3 separate regions of the Homo sapiens genome follow, and all the other regions are linked to region 3. The links are contacts of gene promoters, found by promoter capture Hi-C in blood cells and fetal thymus (Javierre and others, 2016). All regions are on one chromosome and are shown on one strand. The core of a region is centred on a gene start or on the middle of the fragment in contact, and the rest is flanking DNA. Distances in the headings are between cores, read along the strand shown.

The links. Contacts are between HindIII fragments. The CHiCAGO score rates a contact against its expected background, and 5 or more counts as called.
Region 1: the fragment with the promoter of A2ML1 here is called in contact with the fragment with the promoter of CLEC4E in region 3 in 6 of 17 cell types (M2 macrophages, endothelial precursors, naive CD8 T cells and 3 more); the score reaches 6.5 in M2 macrophages.
Region 2: a fragment that was not itself captured here is called in contact with the fragment with the promoter of CLEC4E in region 3 in 4 of 17 cell types (naive CD8 T cells, endothelial precursors, non-activated CD4 T cells and 1 more); the score reaches 6.8 in naive CD8 T cells.

The regions. Positions count from the first base shown.
Region 1 is chr12:8,820,943-8,823,989 of GRCh38, forward strand. A2ML1 (alpha-2-macroglobulin like 1) reads left to right here and starts at 1,679. Exons shown (of 36, transcript NM_144670.6): 1 at 1,679-1,771; 2 at 2,240-2,423; 3 at 2,778-2,940. The coding sequence starts at 1,710. All of the region lies in intron 1 of A2ML1-AS1 (A2ML1 antisense RNA 1), which reads right to left. The HindIII fragment of the contact is 3,171 bases long and covers 1-1,951 here.
Region 2 is chr12:8,843,520-8,846,529 of GRCh38, forward strand. A2ML1 (alpha-2-macroglobulin like 1) reads left to right here. Exons shown (of 36, transcript NM_144670.6): 13 at 1,923-1,983; 14 at 2,558-2,703. Among named protein-coding and RNA genes, the nearest start is that of A2ML1-AS1, 14 kb to the left of the region's middle. The HindIII fragment of the contact is 7,718 bases long and covers 1-3,010 here.
Region 3 is chr12:8,539,589-8,542,418 of GRCh38, forward strand. CLEC4E (C-type lectin domain family 4 member E) reads right to left here and starts at 1,317. Exons shown (of 6, transcript NM_014358.4): 1 at 1,173-1,317; 2 at 267-359. The coding sequence starts at 1,209. The HindIII fragment of the contact is 5,761 bases long and covers 1-2,830 here.

The DNA.
Region 1 (3,047 bases), core at 429-2,928, 280 kb after region 3:
TCTAACTTCGACCCTCTATGATTCCATCTCCAACCTGAGCAATCAGCACTCCCCACTTCCCAAGCCCCTACCTGCCAAATTATCTTTAAAAACTCTGATCCACGAAGGCTCAAGGATTTAAGTAATAATAAAACTCCAGTCTCCCACACAGCCGGCTCTGCGTGAATTACTCTTTTGCCATTGCAGTTCCCCTGTCTTGATAAATCGGCTCTGTCTAGGCAGCAAGCAAGGTGAATCCATTGGGTGGTTACAAAACGGGGTCTCACTATGTTGCCCAGGCTGGTCTCAAACTCTTGGGCTCAAGCAATCCTCCAGCTTCTGACTCCCAAAAGCTGGGATTATAGGCATGAGCCACTGCACTTAGACTAATTTATATTTTAGGTGACTTCTAAGTATTACCATCATAAAGAACACTGTGGGCTGGGCACGGTGGCTCATACCTGTAATCCCAGCACTTTGGGAGGCTGAGGTGGTCCCTGGAGCTCAGGAGTTCGAGACTAGCCTGGGCAACATGGTGAAACCCTGTCTCTATTAAAAATACAAAACAATTAGCCAGGAGTGTTGGTGCCTACCTGTGGTCCCAGCTACTCAGGAGGTGGAGGTGGGAGGATCGCTTGAGCCCAGGAGGTCAAAGCTGCAGTGGGCTGAGATTGTGCCACTGCACTCCAGCCTGGGTGATAAAGTGAGACTCTACTTCAAAAAAATAAAAAATAAAGAAAAGAAAAAAAAGAAAGAACAGTGTGAAAAAACTCAGTGTTACACTTGTGCATACATGCATGCTGTCCTTTTTTTCCTCATTAAGAAACATTTCCAGAGTAGGAGTTGCTGAGTGAAAGAATATGCAAATCTCAAAGGCTTTGGTGTGTATTACAAAATTGCCATGAGAAAGTTATCCACATTCTATTTTCTCTAGGACTGTGTGTGTCCCTATTTCCATACAGTCACAACAATACTGAGTAGTATTAATTTTTTTTTTTTTTGAGACAGAGTCTCGTTGTGTCACCCACGCTGGAGTAAAGTGGCATGATCTCGGCTCACTGCAACCTCCACCTCCCGGGTTCAAGCGATTCTCCTGCCTCAGCCTCCCAAGTAGCTGGGACTATAGGCACCCACCACTATGCCCAGCTGATTTTTTTTTCTTTGTATTTTTAGTAGAGACAGGGTTTCACTATGTTGGCCAGGCTGGTCTTGAACTCCTGACCTGGTGATCTGCCCACCTCAACCCCCCAAAGTGCTGGGATTACAGGCGTGAGCCACTGTGACCGGCCAAGTTTACTGCTTTTCTATTGAAACTGTTCTCATACCCGTGTTCCCAACTACACCTTAATTGAATAATAAAAGAAAATAAGGACATTAAATGAGAACAGGAATTGGAATGAGACCAGAAAAAAAGGGAGGAGTTCAAAATATGTTCTGAGAGCTTTACCATTATGAATACTCAGCTCTGGTTTTCCCCCAAAACTGGCTGAACCAGTATGGATGTTCCAGGCAGAAACAACTTTAAAGAAGTGAATAGTGGCCCTACCCTGGTCCACCACCTAACCTGGTGGTTACAGAAGGAGGAACACAGTCCTCCTGTGTTCCAGGTGCCAGGAGGTGACTGACTATAGCATCAGTCATCACTGCACACCCTACCTGGAATTAGTATATAAAGCTACGCGGAGCGATCTCTGCCCCTGACCCTGGAAAAATCTGTCTCACCCACAAAGATGTGGGCTCAGCTCCTTCTAGGAATGTTGGCCCTATCACCAGCCATTGCAGAAGAACTTCCGTGAGTGCTTGGTGTCAGAATTGGTTTATTAGGGCAGCGGCTTCTTCGCCTAACTTTCTCAAACATTTATATGGAGATGGGGAGATCAACTTTGGTTTATCTTAATTTCCTCCTCCTTTTTTCTCTTCTTTGGTTCCACTGATCCTTTACCCAGAGAGGGAGGCTGACGCATGAAGAGGAAGCTTTAAAAAAGATAAATATTAAAATGTGCCCTGTTTTCTGAAATAGGCCTAATTTCCTCCTTGGTGCTCTAGGCATGTGTGCTCGGTGAGGGCCTCCTGATGGCGGAAGTTGAAGACTGTGCACTGAGTCGTTGCCCCTCTGCTTCTTGTAGAAAATGAGGTGCATAAGGAAGGCAGGGGCTTGGTCTGTCTAATTCACTGCTACTTGCTGAGCGCTTAGGAGAGTGCTGGATTTTTCGAGTGAATGAATCATTATTGCCCTGAAATCCTTCTGCTCCTTTAATAGAAACTACCTGGTGACATTACCAGCCCGGCTAAATTTCCCCTCCGTTCAGAAGGTTTGTTTGGACCTGAGCCCTGGGTACAGTGATGTTAAATTCACGGTTACTCTGGAGACCAAGGACAAGACCCAGAAGTTGCTAGAATACTCTGGACTGAAGAAGAGGCACTTACATTGTATCTCCTTTCTTGTAAGCACAGACTCAGCCCTCACTCGAATCCCTTACTTGCCTATTCTCCTCCCTAGGCTCACTATAATCTACTTTAAGTATAATTTCTGTTATCTTTTGCCACGGCCTCTAAACCTATTTTTTCTCAACTTAACCTCAATCCCCGGCTATAACTCACCCACGGTTTCCTCGACCTAGGATTTCTCCCTTTAGTTCCTGACCTTAATTCTTCCTCGTGGTAATTTGTTTTATGTCTCTATCCTTGCTACCCCCATCTAACTCAGCTCTTTCCTTTAACTCACTGTTGGGTTGAGACCAGTTGATTCTGTTCCCCCAATCCCTTACCCCTCCCCAGAAGTCCCCTTTCTTGGTCAGGTACCACCTCCTGCTGGTGGCACAGAAGAAGTGGCCACAATCCGGGTGTCGGGAGTTGGAAATAACATCAGCTTTGAGGAGAAGAAAAAGGTTCTAATTCAGAGGCAGGGGAACGGCACCTTTGTACAGACTGACAAACCTCTCTACACCCCAGGGCAGCAAGGTAAGAGTCACATATTTGGGGTTCGACTAAAACCTGGGGAAACCGCTGTGCACAGGGGTAAAGAGGGGATTTGTGGTTTGACAGTAGGCTTTGGAAAAAAAGGAGTG
Region 2 (3,010 bases), core at 411-2,910, 300 kb after region 3:
TTAATTTTAAATGTATTTTTTATTTAACCCATTATATCCAAAATATTAACATTTTAACACGAAAGCCATATAAAAAGTTTTAATAGATATTTTACATTCTTGTTTCAACGGTGTCTTTGAAACTCAGTATGTATTTTACACTTAAAGCGTATCTCAGTTTGGACTGAGCACATTTCAAGTATTCAATATTCCTTTTTTTTTCTTTTTTTTTTTTTTTGAGACACAGTCTCGCTCAGTTGCCCAGGCTGGAGTGCAGTGGTGTGTTCTTGGCTCACTGCAAGCTCCACCTCCCAGGTTCACGCCATTCTCCTGTCTCAGCCTCCCAAGTAGCTGGGACTACAGGCGCCCGCCACCACGCCCAGCTAATTTTTTTTGTATTTTTAGTAGAGACGGGGTTTCACCATGTTAACTAGGATGGTCTCGATCTCCTGACCTCGTGATCCACCTGCCTCAGTCTCCCAGAGTGCTGGGATTACAGGCATGAGCCACCGCGCCCGGCCTCAAGTATTCAATATTCCTATGTGGCTATGAGATACTGCATGGCCCAGTATAGGTGTAAGAGATGGAAAACATTGGGGGAAGAAAGAGATTCTGAGCAGGAACACAGGAAAATTGTGTGGGAAAATAAAATGAGGAATTACCTGAGAAAATAGTGCTGGCCAGGACCAAAAAAAACAAAAACAAAAACAAAACCAGCTGGGTGGTTGGGAGGGAGAGTGGGGAGGGATGGGACTCAGGATACTTTTTTTTTTTTTTTAATTTATATGAGACAGGGTTTCGCCATGTTGGCCAGGCTGGTCTTGAACTCCTGACCTCAGGTGATCTGCCCACCTTGGCCTCCCAAAGTGCTGGGACTGCAGGCATGAGCCACCGAGCCCAGCCAGGATACATTTCATTCTGTGTTCCATTGGTCAATATTATCAAATAGATGATATGGGGTTAAATTCACATCGATAGCAGCCTCATTGGGGAAATAAAATCATAACTTGGTAGCCTGAAAGCAATGTATAAGGATAAGCAGCTTTCCTGTCACCTTGGTGACAGTCAGGAAGTAGAATGGAAACCTCAGGTTTGATGGCTCGGAGCCTCTTTGTTCCGTTATCCTCCTGTCAGTCTATGAGAGACTTTCTCCCCTCTGGATCATTGCAGTAGCTTCCATGGTTTCAGTGTTGTCGTTAAGTGAAAAAAAAAAAATCATCCTAATACAACGAAAAGAGAAAAGATAGGTGGAAAATAACAAGTCCAGTGATAAAGCGGGCTCTGTCTTCAGGACCGAAGTGTGGGGAGGTGTAGGACAAAAGTGAAGTTAGGGCCGAGCCACGTGGAATGGCTAATGCTGGGCAGGCGTCCAAGGAACCGACCTTGGAGCCCTGCAGGAGCGTGGGATGAGAGCCTGCTTGCAAACAAGATCACCGAGTTCTGTTTCAAGTGAGAGTGGACGGGAAGGGGGAGTTAGAAGAGGAGATTTCTCCTCTAGAGGGTTCAATGTCAGAAGGGCTCAGGGTGGTTTAGGATGAAATTATTTCCACTGAATTTTAAATTGAGCTGTAATTAAAAAACACTTATGAGGATAGATTTTCGCTGACTTTCTGTTACAAAGATTATAAGAAAATAAAATTTGGAGATCTTCAAGAAATGGCAGACAGTTATCTATGGTGAGGAACAATTTCTATGCTGTCAGACTCCTCCCATCCACCTGCGTGGTTCTCAGCCAGACCTCCAACTGCAGGAGGAGCCACCAGGACCCGTTGGCAGCATCCTGCATTTGTCAAGCTAGTGGATGCTGGGTGAGGTATTGACCCGGACTCTGAACTGTGAAAGGAACCTCTCCTCATGAAGGGATGCAGAGATGCTCTGGAAGTTGGTCCAAGGTGAAATTACTGTAACTTCTGTGCAGTTGATTCTTTTCTTTTCTTCTTTAGTTAATAGGGAAAGGAAGTTTGGTGATGGAGGGGCAGAAACACCTGAACTCTAAGAAGAAAGGTGAGTGTACATGCTTTTCCCGGAAGCAAACAGGATATTTTTAAATTCCAGAAAACAATTCTTGGCCAGGCGCGGTGGCTCATGCCTGTAATCCCAGCACTTTGGGAGGCCGAGGTGGGCGGATCACGATGTCGGGAGATCGAGACCATCTTGGCTAACATGGTGAAACCCCGTCTCTACTAAAAATACAAAAAAAAATTAGCCGGACGTCGGGGCGGGCCCCTGTAGTCCCAGCTACTCGGGAGGCTGAGGCAGGAGAATGGCGTGAACCCGGGAGGCGGAGCTTGCAGTGAGCCGAGATCATGCCACTGCGCTCCAGCCTGGGCGACAGAGCGAGACTCCGTCTCAAAAAAAAAAAAAAATAAATAAAATAAAATAAAATAAAATAAAAAAATTCTTATCCACAGAAGTAATGGAATTGGAGCACTAACAGTTATCACAGGAGAAGAGAAAAATGAGAAGTAACTTGCACCATGGTGCCTGCACTGGCTCAGTGAAAAGTACATATGGTTAGATGCCGTTGGCAGGTGAATGTGCATTCTGATTTTCCTGTATATTCCCTCTTCTCTTTCAGGACTGAAAGCCTCCTTCTCTCTCTCACTGACCTTCACTTCGAGACTGGCCCCTGATCCTTCCCTGGTGATCTATGCCATTTTTCCCAGTGGAGGTGTTGTAGCTGACAAAATTCAGTTCTCAGTCGAGATGTGCTTTGACAATCAGGTAAAATGATAGCGGAGAAGGGTGAAGATAAAAGTTGGGCATAGAGAAAGATCTTGTGTGTGCTGCGGTTGGAAACAAGACAAGTCAGGGAAAGAAGATAGTGTTGACGTTGGATGTTGTATTATATTTATATCTTTAGTGTTTGGGGTTTGTGTTGAAATCCATCTCTCTCCTACTTTTTATTTTAAGAAGTCATGCTGGCTGAGGTGCAGTGGCTCACTCCTGTAATCCCAGTGCTTTGGGAGGCCAAGGCAGAGGGATTTCTTTAGGTCAAGGGTTCAAGACCAGCCTGGACAACATAGCAAGA
Region 3 (2,830 bases), core at 67-2,566:
AGGCTGAAAGAGGAGGATTCAGGACTGCCAAGGAAGTGAAAAATGTCTATCATGAAAAGTAAGTCACAGGTGATTAAAATTCAGAAACAGTTCCCTGCTTGTTGAGGTTTCTGGTTTGAGAAATAACCTAGAGATTAATAGGGAAAAAAAAAAGGGTGAAATAGAAAGACCCTTTGAGGGCAAAGAGAGTCTACAGGCAGCATGGAAGAGTTTTCTCCTAATATGCACCAGGAAGAATTAAATTGAATTTGACCTTCAGAACCCACCAACACATCTGGTGATGAAACAGGCACTGAGAAATAGGATGGGGATCCCAGCAACAGTCCATAAGAACATTTGGGAAGAGAAGCATCCTCTCTCTGTAGAAAGAAAGACACAAACATGATCAATCTTCCCTAAGCAAGGTACAAAAGAGATAGAAGAGATTCTTATTCATCCTTACTTATTTCCTTCTACTTCCATTGTTTGTACTGAGTAATTCCCAAATTTCAGCATGCTTCAGAATCACTTGGAGGGTTTATGGAAACACAGATTGCTGACCCTTACCCCCAGAGTTAGCAACTCAGTAGAGTTTGTATGGAACCAACAAGTTCCCAGGGGCTACTGCTGCTGCTGGTCTGAGGACCACACGTTTAGCACCCCTGGAGTAAGACTCTGACTCATGAACTCAGATATACAATTTTTCCTTTCTAAGTCTCTCAGTTAAATTTTTTTCAGTATTTTCTAAGGCCCCCCTTCTTTCTTTTTCTTTCTTTTCCCTTTTCTCGTCTTTGCTTTTCTTGTCCTTCTCCTGATCTTTTTTTTTTTTCTGTGTCTCACTTTTCAAGCGCTTTGTAAATTAGGTAAAATGTTAACAGTCATCTAATAGTTCCTCTCTTCCTCCCATTAAACATTTTACAGACAAAGAGAGTTCCAGAGAAGTGAAGTGACTTGCCAAAAGGGACACAATGTATTGCAGAAAGGGTGGAAACTGATAGCTCTCCCTTAGCTAGAGGCCAGCAGGCTTTCTGGTATAAGAAATAGTCTTTAAATCTCTCTCTCTCTCTTCCTCTGTCCCCCCACTTTTTTTTTTAACTTCAGTGAATACTTTTCTATTGTCCTGTCTTTCACCATATTTATCACTTGTTCCAAAAAGAGATCTATGGAAGGAAAGGAAGAGTTGCAGATTTTACCTGTGCATTGTGTTTCAGATGATTTAGATGAATTCATTTTTTCTCTCTCTTTGGTTTTTTGTTTCTCTCTCTCTCTTTTTCTCTCCCTCCCTCTCTTTCTTTCTCCTCAGGAGTGTTTTGTTGGTAAGATTCAGGGAGAATGAATCTTGAAAGATAAACACTTTGTCTTTTAGGAAGTTCAGCTCCGATAGATGTAGAATATTAACTTGTTCTGTGGCTACGCATTAAGTCAGGATTTCCTTTCTTGCATAAGGAGGACAAGGAAGTTTATTGGACAGCATGTCAGTTCTCTTCACTCCATGTAACAACAAAATGAGGAAATTATGAAATGGTAAGCATCAACACAAATAGGCTAGCCATGGGGAAACAGGAGAGTTTTTTTTTTAAATGTTGTTTCGTTTCGTTGGACCAAATGTCTCTAGTTTCTTCAAGGCATAACTCATCCCCCAGTTTTTCCTTGACAATATGGAGCTCACCTCTGCACTCTGAATTTCACTTTGGATCTGTACCATCCACACATTTGGTAACTGAAAAGAAGACTTAGACAACATAGCACAAAGCTGGGCATATAGTGTATGTATTTAGGACATGGCAACCTGAATTTTTTCATCTTTTTTTTTTTTTTTTTTTTTGAGACAGAGTCTCGCTCTGTCGTCCAGGCTGGAGTGCAGTGGCATGATCTCCGCTCACTGCAAGCTCCGCCTCCCGGGTTCAAGCCATTCTCCTGCCTCAGCCTCCCGAGTAGCTGGGACTACAGGCGCTCGCCACCACGCCTGGCTAATTTTTTGTATTTTTAGCAGAGACGGGGTTTCACTGTGGTCGTCAGGATGGTTTCAATTTCCTGACCTCGTGATCCGCCCGCCTCAGCCTCCCAAAGTCCTGAGATTACAGGCGTGAGCCACCGCGCCCGTCCTCTTTTTCATCTTTTATGGTTTTTCTTTCTTCTTCATTTGCAGCTCTTGAATATTCTAATGTTGTGGATTTATGTCCCTCTTATCTTATGCTGACTACTAGGCTGCTACTACTAGGCTGACTACTAGAGTCCCCCTCAGCAGGACAGCCTCATGTGATTAGACCACTTTGAAACTCAGCTTAGTTTTTCACAACATAACGCAGCTTCTGAAGTCTCAGAGACCCAGCAGGCAGTTTAATTCTCCTGTTCTCAATTATTTGGGGATTTTAGTTCTATGTTACAGCCTACAGTAGGAGAAATGTATTTGAAGGTCAGAAAAAGCAATTTCAATTAGATATTAGAATTTAATGGTTCTCTGGGCCGGGAGCAGTGGCTCATGCCTGTAATTCCAACACTTTGGGAGGCCAAGGTGGGTGGATCATTTGAGGTCAGGAGTTTGAGACCAGCCTGGCCAACATGGTGAAACCCCACCTCTACTAAAAATACAAAAATTAGCCAAGTGTGGTGGCACGCATCTGTAATTCCAGATACTTGAGAGGCTGAGACAGGAGAATAGCTTGATCCTGGGAGGCAGAGGTTGCAGTGAGCCAAAATTGCACCACTGCACTCCAGCCTGGGCGATAGAGTGAGACTCTGTCTCAAAAAAAAAAAAAAAAAAGAATTAATGCTTCTCTGGAAGAATAGTTAGATATGTGCCTTCTCCTTACTTAAAGATACTTAAGAATAAGATCACACTGGTCTCAGT